Regions from separate parts of the Homo sapiens genome. Here region 2 is linked to region 1. The links are contacts of gene promoters, found by promoter capture Hi-C in blood cells and fetal thymus (Javierre and others, 2016). All regions are on one chromosome and are shown on one strand. Each heading gives the region's core, a stretch centred on a gene start or on the middle of the fragment in contact. The rest is flanking DNA. Distances are from core to core; before and after follow the strand shown. Region 1 holds the start of RNPC3 (RNA binding region (RNP1, RRM) containing 3). Region 2 holds the start of ZZZ3 (zinc finger ZZ-type containing 3).

Region 1 (6,347 bases), core at 1,733-4,232:
CCCCAGGTACCCTTGCCACCTTATAGAGGTACTATAGGATATTTTAAATATTTGAGGGAAACATAGCAATACTCACTGTTTACCAGACACTACCTGAACTACCAGCTTGAGATGTTTCTCAATTTGAACATTAGATACTGTTTAATTCCTTTTAAGAATGTCATATATTTGAAAAGCTGGGTTTTTGGCTGTTGCTCTCATATAAAACAAGTGCTTCCTGGAAAACCAGAGTGGAATAGGAAATAAGGTGGCATCAAGGGGTGCTAGAAAAAACTGCTGGGACAATAAAGCTACCAATAACTGAAAAAGTTTGGCAACTTCTGGGCTAGACAAAGAGGAGGGAATGAGAAAGGTACTTCTCAGATACGACCACACATACCTACACTCAGACACAGAAAAGATTAGAGTGTATTACATATTCCTGCAATCCTTTAGGTCAAGCCTGATATGAGGGGAGTGTAAGAAGAGACACCTTAATGGAGTTTGGACTTGACATCTCTAACCAACTGTACTGATAGCAACTGAAAGTGACTAGAAAATTATGACCTCTACCTGAGATATTGTCAAGGAAAGGATAAGGTAGATTTCATTGAGTACAACTAAAAGCAATTAAGTAGAGAGAAAATAAAATTCTGTCATGTAACTATTCCACTCAGTCATGATACCTGAATTACAGTAGATAATGACCATTAAACTCTGCCTGATAGCCCCTGTAGTAATTCCTAACCGTAGGAGGCAGTGGTAAATATAAAAGTGAATTCCTTCATGCATTCATTCATTGAATAGATATTTACAGAATGTGCACTATGTCTGGAACATTTTACTAAACATAAGAGTCACAGGGAGGATGTGACGGTCATTTTGCATGACACCTGTCACCAACTGATCCCAACAGTTGATTTGGCTGATCTGGCTAACTAGCTGGGTTCCCCTTCCTTCCTAACTGCCCCATATATGTCTCTTCCAAAGCTGCCCACTCGGCTGAGGAGGATGACTTACCCCCATAAAGGAGGATGATTTTTCTGTAAGGGCATACGTGTAGCAGTGCTCCCTTGCTAGAAGCTCCAAACAAGTCTTCAAAGAACACACACAAAAAAGCCGCTGAAGGATAGTGTTTAAAATAGCATGACCACTCCAATCGGTTTATAACACTACCCTATTTTTTCCAAAGCACTTATTATTCTCTGAAAAGAACTTTATTTACATATTTATTCTGTCTTGATTTTAGAAAGTAAGCATTGAGAGGGCAGGAATTGATTGTCTTCTTCTTCTTCCTTGCCTCAACTTCTCAACATCTGCATGTCCCATGACTCCATTATGGGCACAATTCTATCTATACCCTTTGTCATTCTTCAGATATAAATACCATATAGGTTGATGCCATACCTCGTGGTAACCTTTCCCAAGAATGCCAAACACACACATTCAACTTCCTACTTGAAACAGGGATACTGAATAGATACCTTAAACTTAATATATGTTCCTCTATTCCCAATGTCCCACTACAGTTTCTAACCTAGCTATACTTGGTCAATCTTCTCACATTCAGTAAATGGCATCATCATCTACAGATGGATAATATCTAGCTTAAGCCAAAAATCCAGAATTTATCCTTGCTTACTATTCTTCATCTGCAAGTTCCTATCAACTACTTCTAAAACGTATCTCAATTCCAGTTCCTTCTCTACATGTCCACTTTCACCAAACTATTATGGTAGTGTTTTTCTCCAGACTTCTACAGTAGTCCAACTGGTCTTTCTGCTTCTGTTTTTTGCATTGCAACCGGAGAAATTTTCATACCTAAACTTTGATTCTCTCCCCTCAACACACACCTACTTAAAGAATTTGTCAGTTTCTAAATGTTCCTCAAATAAAAAGGGCTCCTAACAAATCTACAGCGTCTACGTGGTCTGGCTCTACCTATCTGATATTTTGGTGGGTGTGTGGGGAAGGTTCTTCTCATGTTTGTCTTCTAGTTTTCATTAATATCTGTCTCTCTCCTTTTCCCCAACCAATGCGGGATGACAGCAGATTGCTGGTATACTGCTTACTGCTGTATCTCTAACATTTATTTAAGTGGCAAAAAGAACTGTAAGAGGAACTCTGGTTCTCCAGACTGTAGCAGCTACATCTAGCATAAAACCTCTCTTTAGAATCCTCAAGGCCCTCTCTGTATGGGGTGAGGGGTACATTCCTGACCCTCCGGGGATGATCCCTGCCTCACTCCATTCAGAATCTAGGCAGAACAGTGGATTAGAATGTAGACCCCCAGTCAGAACACCAAGGGTCAAAACTTAGTTCTTCCACTTTCTAGCTGTGTGATTTAACCTCTTTGTACATCAGTGTCCTCAGCTGTAAAATAGGGAGAAAAGTACCTACACCTACACACACACACACATACACACACACACACACACACACCCCTACACACACACACATACACACACATGCAATAATTTATTTATTAGGTTACCTCTCCCTAGAGGCTGCCATTTCTGCGAAATGAACCCTGGCAGGGGCCTATCCGTCTGCTAAATGCCTACTGATTCAAGAAAAAAGTCTGAACTCTCAACGTTTTGCCCCTTAAACTGAGTTCTCCTCCCTACAATGGTGTCTAATGAGTTGACAGAATAACTGGCTAGCTTTATATTTTACCATCTAAATACTGTAAGAACATACCCGGTATTTCCACACCCAAGTTCTCCTCCTTGCTATTCAGGCCAATTCACTTTCCCAAGGCCAGGGATTAAGAGCCGCACGGTCAGCTCCAGATAGCGCTCGCCGCCGTGCGCCCCGCCCCGCCGTGCGCCCCGCCCCGCCGTGCGCCCCGCCCCGCCGTGCGCCCCGCCCCGCCGTGCGCCCCGCCCCGCCGTGCGCCCCGCCCCGCCGTGCGCCCCGCCCCGCCGTGCGCCCCGCCCCGCCGTGCGCCCCGCCCCGCCGTGCGCCCCGCCCCGCCCTGTGACGGTCCCAGCCCGCACATGCGCAGTCGTGAGTCCTCTTGTCCTTGAGCGTCAACCTTCTTTCCCTGAAGTGGCTGGGGTTCCTGTTTCCTTCTTTGATTGACAACTTGTGTTAACCCTCGCACATCTCTGGGCCAATTTTTGCTTGTAAGTCTTTCCGGAGACCCCTGGAATTTAAATCATTAGCACCGCGCCCTTCCCCGAAGAGTCTTCGAAGGGTTGCCGCTTTTCGGTGGCGCAGTTCTCGCGAGAAGGTGACTTTCTTTCTCGGTATTTCCTGGTTTCCAGAATCCTTAGCGCGAGGCGGAAAAAATATTTCTCCCAGCTTGTGTTGATGCCGCGATTTTGACTGAGACTTCTTCCCACGATTTCTGTTTTTGCTTCTCCAAGGAAAATGGCAGCTCCCGAGCAGCCGCTTGCGATATCAAGGGGATGCACGAGCTCCTCCTCGCTTTCCCCGCCTCGGGGCGACCGAACCCTTCTGGTCAGGCACCTGCCGGCTGAGCTTACTGCTGAGGAGAAAGAGGACTTGCTGAAGTACTTCGGGGCTCAGTCTGTGCGGGTCCTGTCAGATAAGGGGCGACTGGTAAGGGCGCGCCCCTCCGGAGTCTCCCGGGAAGGCATTTGGGAAGTGACCGGGGAGGGGGAGCGCTGACAAGAGTAAAATGGAAACGAGTGGGGAAGATGGACTTGTGTGATGAGAGCTCCCCCATCCTACCTCTTTTTTATCAAAATATCTGCTCTGCGAAGTGGAGTTTTAATCGGCTCGAGTCTGGATTAGTCATAGCACTGCAGAAAAGGGCAAGTGAGAACGACAAAGCAGAAGAATGGAAATTAGCTTAGTTATATTGAGTTTTCGGATCCATCCTGAGAGCCTCACAACTTTTTTGAATTTGGGGTTATTTCTCCTGGACTCAAGAGTATTCTTACAAATGTGCATCAAGGGATTTTTTAAAGTCCTACTTCATTTATAAGCCAATGTTAAATCGTTCATTAAAATAGAGGAGAAGCTACATTGGTGACTTGCGTAAATTAAATGCAGAATTTCAACTAGAAAAAGAGGCTTTTCATAAAAATTTCCCGATGACATCTTTTAGGGAACAATTTTTTAGGGCTGTTAAGAGTACCTGTGTAGGAATTTACACAATTACTTTGTTTTGCTTTATATCCAAAGATATTTTAGATTTCTCTTCATTAAAATAGGAATAGCGATGGTGCAAGACTCAGTGGTTTTAAAGTTTCCCTAGGTGATTTTAATGTTAATGTGCAGCCCAAGTTGAGAGTTACTGAATTAGAAGAAAGACCAATTTTGATCAGTTTAAATGTCACTTATGCCTGCAAATTAAAAAAAAAAAATTATATATGGCTCAATTTAAGTACATCAGGTCATCGTGTATCAGATTAGACAAAATTAGAATGTGCGATATAATTATTAAAGTAACTTTTAATAAGCATTGACCAGAGCTCTTCCTTAGCATAGTGATTCTTTTACTGTTGATTTGTGTTTCTTTTCTGATGGTTTTTAAAATCCGTATAATTTATGTTTAAAAATAGACTTCTCCCATTGAACATTATTACAAAGATAAAGCACAAAGGAAATATGCACCTTGAAGAACGATTTCTCTGTTGGTGAATGTTTTTAAACTACGCATTGTTATGTATAGAGGAAAGTTTAAAATCTTTAGATCTGTCATAAATGAAGGAAATAAATTTTTAGTTGGTTAAAAGTGACCCTCTGTGTAGAACAGGTCTTTAAACTTTTGGTCTTTTGAACTATTTGCATGTGTAAAACGTGTGTCTTTATATGATAGAGGTTGCATAGCTTTCATCTCAAGTCTGACTCAAAAAGTATTGAAAACCACTGGACTGAAATTAGTAATCAGTTAAATGGTCTTGAGTTTTCATCCTTTCCCGTGATTTTATTAACATGTCACATTACTCCACTGGTAAAAAGTCAGATTTCTTTGTGAGAAACTGAAATTATATTGGAAGTAATTTGTACCTTAACTCTGTTTCAGAAACATACAGCTTTTGCCACATTCCCTAATGAAAAAGCAGCTATAAAGGTATGACTTTTTCTTGACGATTAAAGTTGTCAACAGGATCCTCTTATACAATCTTGGTTCAGATAATGTTTAACTGTGGTTTTTAAGAAGCAAAAGCGTTTGTATTCCAACAGTTTCCCCAACAGACTACATTTGATTTGTCAGTTGGCAGATCTTGCCCAGTCCTTTAGTAGATTATCTATAAAGAAAAACTAACTGCGTATGTAATTAAAATAACAATTTCTAAATGATTTAGATTGATAAATATCTCTGTGACTGTTACAAGGTAAGATGTTTCAAGTGTTAAAAGGAGAATATACATTTCTTTATAATGCCAGGGAATCATTCACAGGAGGTGATCTTTTAGCTAGAAGTCTAATGATTAATTGGATTTTTTCAGAAGGAAACAAGTGGAGATGGGCCTTCTGGGCTTGCAGAACACCAAATAAAGCTGTGAGACATTGGAAGTTATAAGTGGAGCAGGAGCTAAGGGTTGAGATGGAAATGGAACTTGAAAAATAGATTTGAGTCTGGGAGAGAGGTATTGAGTTTGGTTTAGTAGGTGGACACTTGATACTTTTGAGCTGGCTCATAATATGATCAGGCCTGTTAAAGATATCTGGTATAGTTCATATCATGGATTGGATGTGCAGAATTATTAGAGGTAGGAGACCAAATGGAAGGCTGTTATAATGGCCAAGGCAAGAATAACTATCTGAAGAAGACAGTAAGAAGACAAAGGGGGAAGTAAATATATATTCAATAGAGATTGAGTTTGTAGGTTTTATAATATAGGGGTTGAGAGAGAATAGTTCAGGATATTTAGATTGAGGATTGAGTTATTTGGGTTGTTATATTAGCTGACATGAGGATCCAGAGGATGTTTGCAAAGGCATAGGATGAATTCACTTGTCATCTGTTAACTTGGAGGGGTCATTGGGCTACTTTTATGGAAATATTTAAAAATATTAATGAGAGCTGAGGCAAGGTGAAGAATGGAAAGATTCTTCAACCATGTGAATAGATATGTTTGCCCAAAGGATAATAAGCTAGGAGAGAAGAATGGGAAGGAGCAGTTAAAGTAGGAGAACTAGAAAGGAAATTATCACTGATGCAAAGAGAAGTGTGTTTTAAGAAGATGAAATCCTGTGATGATGCAAAATGAGGAATGAACACATCTATTAAAGTCTTTTTGCCATGAAACAATAGAAATGACCCAAATTCTCATCGGTAAAAGGAAGGGAAGCCTTAAATCACATTATATCCATATACTGGACTGCAACTGTCTGAGAATGATGTCAAATGGTATGTGTTAATATGGAATGATAGCCCAGATAGAGTA
Region 2 (6,347 bases), core at 2,534-5,033, about 26 Mb before region 1:
AATAAATGTCAGCTGAATTACTGCCTCTAACTTACAAATATACTGAAGTTCCAAAACAACAGTAATAATAATATCTGAATAGTTTGATTAATCACAAAGTGATATTCTCCTCAAGGCAAGTTAGTCAACTCACTCCTCTCTAATAAGACAAAAATTACCTACATAAATGAGAAAAATCAGCTGAAAAGAAAAACAGAAAGGTGAGAACGAAAGGGTCAAACAAAATAATCAAGACTTTGGACTTTGGGAAATATTTACTGAGAGTGGTTTTCAGAGTACAATTATAGTGGTTATCAGAGCATTAACTACAGAAATTTGCACCAGAGTATATACCAAATCTCTAGTAAATACTACTATAAAAATGAAACTCTTCTAGCAACTATTTCTTGTAGGTGACTCCAAACTGAATTTTCATATGAAATTTAGGTGTTTTTATTTTATTTTTGACACAGGGTCTCACTCACTCTGTTGCCCAGGCTGGAGTGCAATGGTGCAATCACAGCTCACTGCAGTCTCAACCTTCTGGGTTCAAGCAATCCTCCCTTCTCAGCCTCCCAAGTAGCTGGTACTACAGGCGTGCACTACCAGGCTAATTTTTTTTCTTTTTTGGTAGAAACGTGGTCTGACTATGTTGTTGCTGGTCTCAAGCAATCCTCCCACCTCGGCCTCCCAAAGTGCTTGTATTACAGGCGTGAGCCACCAGGCCCAGCTTAAGGTAACTTAAAGTTACAGGTCTGTGGAAATTGGCATGGTGTCAGACCTTAAGGAAAAAACTCAAGTGAGAATAAATCAGTATTATTATATTATCACTGTTAATAGTTTCCTCTGATCACTGAAGTTCATTAGCTCTCATCATTTATATGACCGTAATAATTGAGAAAAGTGAAAATTAAATTTCTTGGTTATTTAAATTTTACTCAACCAAACACAAACCATGTAAAAATACATTTTTCCTCTTCCTTGGATTTTTCTCAGTATATTTCTACCAAGTACCTCAAATAATTTCGTGTCTGTAAAAGACTGGTATTTCCCAAGACCCAATACTGAAAAGTTTATAAAACAAAAGTTCTAAGAACAAGGAACATATATTATTTCATAGATCAGATGCACGTGGACTATTAAAGGCCCAGTTACCAAGCTAAACTTATGTAGATACCTTTGCAAAGGCCATTGTAGAACTGTGACCTTCAAACTCATTGTCATTTTCACAATTTCCCACTTCTAAAAATAATAATAAAACGTACTTAACAAATGTTATTTAACAGAATAGCTTTATCTAAAGTAAAGAATTCACAAGGTTTCAATTAAGTATAACCTTAAGCTGCTGACTTTTATGACAGGAAATATCTAGCAATTCTGTGAATAGACCCAGAACTATCTAAAAAAGAATAGGAGGAGAAAGTTGCCTCAAATACCGACTCGGGCTGTCCTCCAACTATTATGAGCCTGACTATTCTTGCACCATGGCTCTTGCCTCACTGTCAACCTTCTACATTCCTCTTTTCTCCCCAACTTGTCCAATTCCATTTCAGTATCAACCTCTACACTCCCAATGTCCCCTTTTCCTCTTTCCAACATCATACCTCTCAACACTCACTTCTATTCCTCAACATTTCTACTTGCACTGTTACAACAAAAAACCACATTGCCCAAAGAGTGGACAATTCTCTTATGTGACTGGTCTGATAAATATTATTACTGGTAGGTTTGGCGGGGGGAAATTACAAAAACAACACTTACAAAATGATAGCCGCTTAGCAACTTCAAGTATATATACCTTTGTTTGTACTAACTACTAATGTCTACCACTCTCCAATTGAGATCACTAAGTTGCATGGTCAAACTATCATTTTAATCACAGTGATAAACTTTTAAAACGTCTGAAAAACTCCTATATAGTTAGGTTACAGTTTAGAATATATAATATATAAAGTTAAATACATAACACACATTAAAGATAAAAATATAAAACTCAAGTGATAAAACATTAATTTATTTAAATCTTGTTTTACATGTACTTTCTTTCTGTGCAAAGCTACCAAGCACAATAAATCAACTTTACTGCAAAAATAAGTTACTTGTGATATTTTCACAAGATTATACTACCAAAAAAATCAGTACAAACAAAAAAAATCTGCGTAAGTATGCATACGTAAGTCTTGACAAACAGGCATATATCACTAAATAAAAATTTAATTTAGTTAAAAAATGTTTACTGATTGCCAATATTGTGTTGGTACCCCATTAAAACAACACTTTCTCCCCTTCATTTAAGAAACAAAAACTAAACCAAAATATGGAAATATCTGGAATGATACACAGCAACCACAAAGGCTGGTTACAGAGATTTAAGACTGAGGAATGGAACTTTGTGGTACCGTGAAACAAGCACTGTGTTACTCTATACTATATACCTCTCTGTATTATGTATAGGAAAAAAAAACACTTTTGTAGTTTTAAAAAACAAACTATGAATAAATTAACTAGTCACCTGATTCGTTTTGTAATTAACTCCCCACTCCTTATTTAGTACTGCAACTACTAAATAAAATCCAAATACTACTTAAGAATACGAAAAAACAAAGGTATACTGTAAATTCACTTCTGAGACATTAGGGAATTGGAGAGAAATATTAAATTGATTTCAAACTCATTTAAGAAAAATAAAGCTCAAACTCTGATGCCAAAATTTATGAGTTTGCTCTTTACTAAAAAGTTGACCTGAGGCCGGGCGCGGTGGCTCACGCCTGTACAGTGCTGAAATCCCAGCACTTTGAGAGGCCAAGGCAGGTGGATCACTTGAGGTCAGGAGTTTGAGACCAGCCTGGCCAACATGGTGAAACCCCGTCTCTACTAAAAACACAAAAATTAGCCGGGCGTGGTGAAGCGCGACTGTAATCCCAGCTACTCGATACTCGAGAGGCTGAGGCAGGAGAATCGCTTGAACCCGGGAGGCGGAGGTTGCAATGAGCCGAGATCGCCCCACTACACTCCAGCCTAGGCGACAAGAGCGAGACTCCGTCTCAAAAAAAAAAAAAAAAAAATCACATGAAACAGTCTGTTACCTTAAATATATAACCTAAAACAACCATCCCTAAACTTCAAAGATGGCAACCTCAGTAACACAGTAGTAATTAAAACCCTACCGATAACTGAGTTAATAGGCACGTACAAAATGATGAAAAGCAGGATTTTATTCTGACCACAGGTGTTGTCAGAGACATAATGGGCCCTCCAAATACTGCCAAAAGTTACTGAAAATACGAAGTCAGGGTGATGAGTAAATGACACCCAGAGAAAATAGATGGGAGGAGTTCTGTTTCAGGAGACTGGAGTCAGGTACTGCAGCAGAAAACGCGACACAATAGTTAACCGGTCTGGAATACTTTAGAAAATGGCAAGAAGGGAAAAACTGACAAGAACATCTTAAAGTAAGAGGAACGGTATCCAATGGAATCATCAGGTCTGCGCGAGCACGGCTCCCGGACTTCCAGTGAGTGGGACAGGGTGGAACTATCACTGCGTGGGGAGAAGGACCTGGCTGAGGGGTGCATATGCTTTTGCAGGTGGTGGAGCGCCCGCAGGGGGATGGGGAGGGCAGTGTTGCCTCAATGGGGTTACTGTATTCCCTTCAAGACTATGGGAAGCTGATGCAGCACGTATCCCGGCACCAAGAGGCACTCGCCCCGGGCCCCTCCCTAACGACTTGCCTTGTAGAAAGAGTTGCAGGTCCCAGGCCCCCGGAACCCAAGGCTCCGCCATCCAGGACAACTGCTCTGCCAACGAGGTCCCGCGAGAATCGAGAGATCTCGCGATACAAACCCACTCGCATCTCGCGAGCTTCCACTAGACCCAACATGGCGGTACAGAAAAAAATCAGTATTTCGGAACTTAAAAAGCACTTCACTAACGGAGTAGTGAACATTTAAAACACTGAGACAGTAGGAAGTCTTTCCGCTTTATACGTCTCCTCCTTTCCCCTTGTACAGAAAAGCAGAAATCTTAAAAACCTCCGATTACCACGATTATACTACATAAACAGAGCGCAGTGCGCTGCCCCAGGCAGCCTCCCTGTCACGTGGAAACATTTTCGGCGTGCCCGTCACGTGGGCCGCTACTGAGCGAGCGCGCTCCCGACGCCCTCCCAAAAGCCCTCCCCGCCCCCCCTTTCGCCCGCGCACACGTGCGCGCGCACCCCCGCCCCACGTGGGGGCTTCGCCGTCGCAGCCGTCGCAGCCGTCGCAGTCGTCGCCTCCAGCCCACCCCCTCCCGGTACTTGGCTCCAAATCCGGGTCCCAAGCCGATCGTTTCCCACCCCCATTCCCTCCCCCTTCATTCTCCCTCCCCCGTGTCTGGCCCTCACCACGTGTCCCGAGCTCTTGCTCACCTTTCACGCGGGGTCGGACGCAACGGGCCACTTGGGGAGGCGCCGCCGCCGTGGCCGCTCTCCGCCCCCGCCACGGCACTTGCTCGGGTGGCCACCGCTGCAGGAAGCTCGATAGCGGCGCCGCGGCGCTTCCAGGTGGGTCCCCGCCTCCCGCTCCTGCCACTTCCCGCAGCACCAGCGGCTCCTTCCGGTCCCCTCCTTTCTCCTCGTTGGGACTGGCGGGCGGCGGCGGCGGCGGCGACCGCTGCTGCTGCTGTTGCTGCTGCTGCAGGCGCGCTCACTACACCGCCTGCTGGTAACCGCGGCCCGTGCAGCGCCCGCGGGTCGGGCGCCGCCGAGGCCCTCCCCGGCCAGTCCCTGCCCCTGGGCGAAGTTTGGTCTTCCGAGGGCGGGTTGCAGTCCATCCCTTGCAACCGTCCAACCTGGCCCTAGCAGAGGAAAGGCGTCCTCGTAGCTCCGCCATTGGAAATCGGCTTCATCCTGCCCTTTGTGGCCTCCTGAGAGATTTGTAAACCCCACCTCCCTTAGCACTGTGGTCTCAAGCCAGGAGAACATCCATACATGTATTTATGATCGTGCTTCTGCCTCGCCTCGTTCACCTCTGGCTTGTACCACAGCACGCAGGCTCGAACCACTTCGGGCCTTTGTGCTTGCCGATTTCTCTGGCAGAACATTTCCTCCAGATTTTTTTTAACTCCTCGATGTTCGATGCATATTTCAGGTCCCTTCTCAGAGGGCTGCCCAGACCACTGTATCCAAAAAAAGTACACCTGCACCATTGCTTTAACTCTTCACCTGCTTTTATTTCTTCATAACAGTTACAACTTCCAGACCTTATTTGTCAGTATCCTCACCACCAGAAATGTAAAATTTTTAAAAGCAGGGACTTAGTAAACTGTTTTGCTCATTGCTGTATCCCCAGAATTGTGTCTGGCACAAAGCAGTGCTCAGTAATATCAAAACAGATCTACCAACTATATTGAGCATGTAGGAAAATAAAGCCCAACACACATTAATGAAGATAAATAACTTCATCATTTATGAGCTGTGGAAAAACAGCTAAACCTCCTTCCGTGGCTATAAAGATTATGTTCCAAAAATATAAAATCCAGTGGTAGAAGCCGTTAACTGGGGCTCTTCTTTGACAATTGTCCAGTGCTGTTTCATTACTTTTGTTTTCCTTTGCAACACTATTTTTTTTTTCGGGCAAGTGGATACGTGTTGTGCCTTCTTTTATGTTGCTAATAAAAGTTATTAAATGTTTTAAATGGTGTTTTGTATTTTAGCTTTGAGTTCAACTCAAAGTAACATCTACTTCAAGAAAAAGGGTTACATGTTTTTAACACATCAAGTATTTATTGAACATACTAGTGTTTCTGGGTGGCAGTATGTCAAAAAAAAACGGGGGTGGGGGAGGCCGGGCGCGGTGTCTCAAGCCTGTAATCCCACCACTTTGGGAGGCCTTGACAGGCAGATCACCTGAGGTGTCAGGAGTTAAAGACCAGTCTGGCCAACATGGCGAAACTTCGTCTCTACTAAAAATAGAAAAATTAGCCAGGTGTGGTGGCACACGCCTGTTATCCCATGTAATCCCAGCTACTTGGGAGGCTGAGGCAGGAGAATTGCTTGAACCCGGGAGGTGGAGGTTGCAGTGAGCCGAGATCGTGCCACTGCACTCCAGCCTGGGCGACAGAGCAAGACTGTCTCAAAAATAAAAAAGGAAAGATAAAACATACTAGTGCCCTATGCTAAGACTAGAGATACAAAAATAAACACGTTTCCCTACCTTGCTCTTTCTACTTATAGAGCCAAATCCTATTATAATAACCATACTTAGCATGCTTTTGATTCCTATGTGCCAGGCCAAATGCTGTGTACTTTTCTATGTTACCCTATTTTAGGCTTCTGACAATCCTATGAGATATATACTATTTGTGGTAGGCCTTGAGATGCACTTTTC

Evidence for each region. Contacts are between HindIII fragments. The CHiCAGO score rates a contact against its expected background, and 5 or more counts as called.
Region 2: the fragment with the promoter of ZZZ3 here is called in contact with the fragment with the promoter of RNPC3 in region 1 in 1 of 17 cell types (naive CD8 T cells); the score reaches 5.8 in naive CD8 T cells.

What each region holds. Positions count from the first base shown.
Region 1 is chr1:103,522,717-103,529,063 of GRCh38, forward strand. RNPC3 (RNA binding region (RNP1, RRM) containing 3) reads left to right here and starts at 2,983. Exons shown (of 15, transcript NM_017619.4): 1 at 2,983-3,546; 2 at 4,979-5,026. The coding sequence starts at 3,355. It overlaps RNPC3-DT (RNPC3 divergent transcript), which reads right to left and starts at 2,792. Exons shown (of 4, transcript NR_168321.1): 1 at 2,680-2,792. It also overlaps the pseudogene RN7SKP285. RefSeq lists a silencer at 2,775-2,874 and an enhancer at 3,195-3,434. The HindIII fragment of the contact is 7,657 bases long and covers 1-6,347 here.
Region 2 is chr1:77,678,875-77,685,221 of GRCh38, forward strand. ZZZ3 (zinc finger ZZ-type containing 3) reads right to left here and starts at 3,784. Exons shown (of 15, transcript NM_015534.6): 1 at 3,711-3,784. RefSeq lists enhancers at 3,840-3,919, 4,737-5,510, 4,940-5,039 and silencers at 4,300-4,719, 4,730-4,789. The HindIII fragment of the contact is 10,120 bases long and covers 1-6,347 here.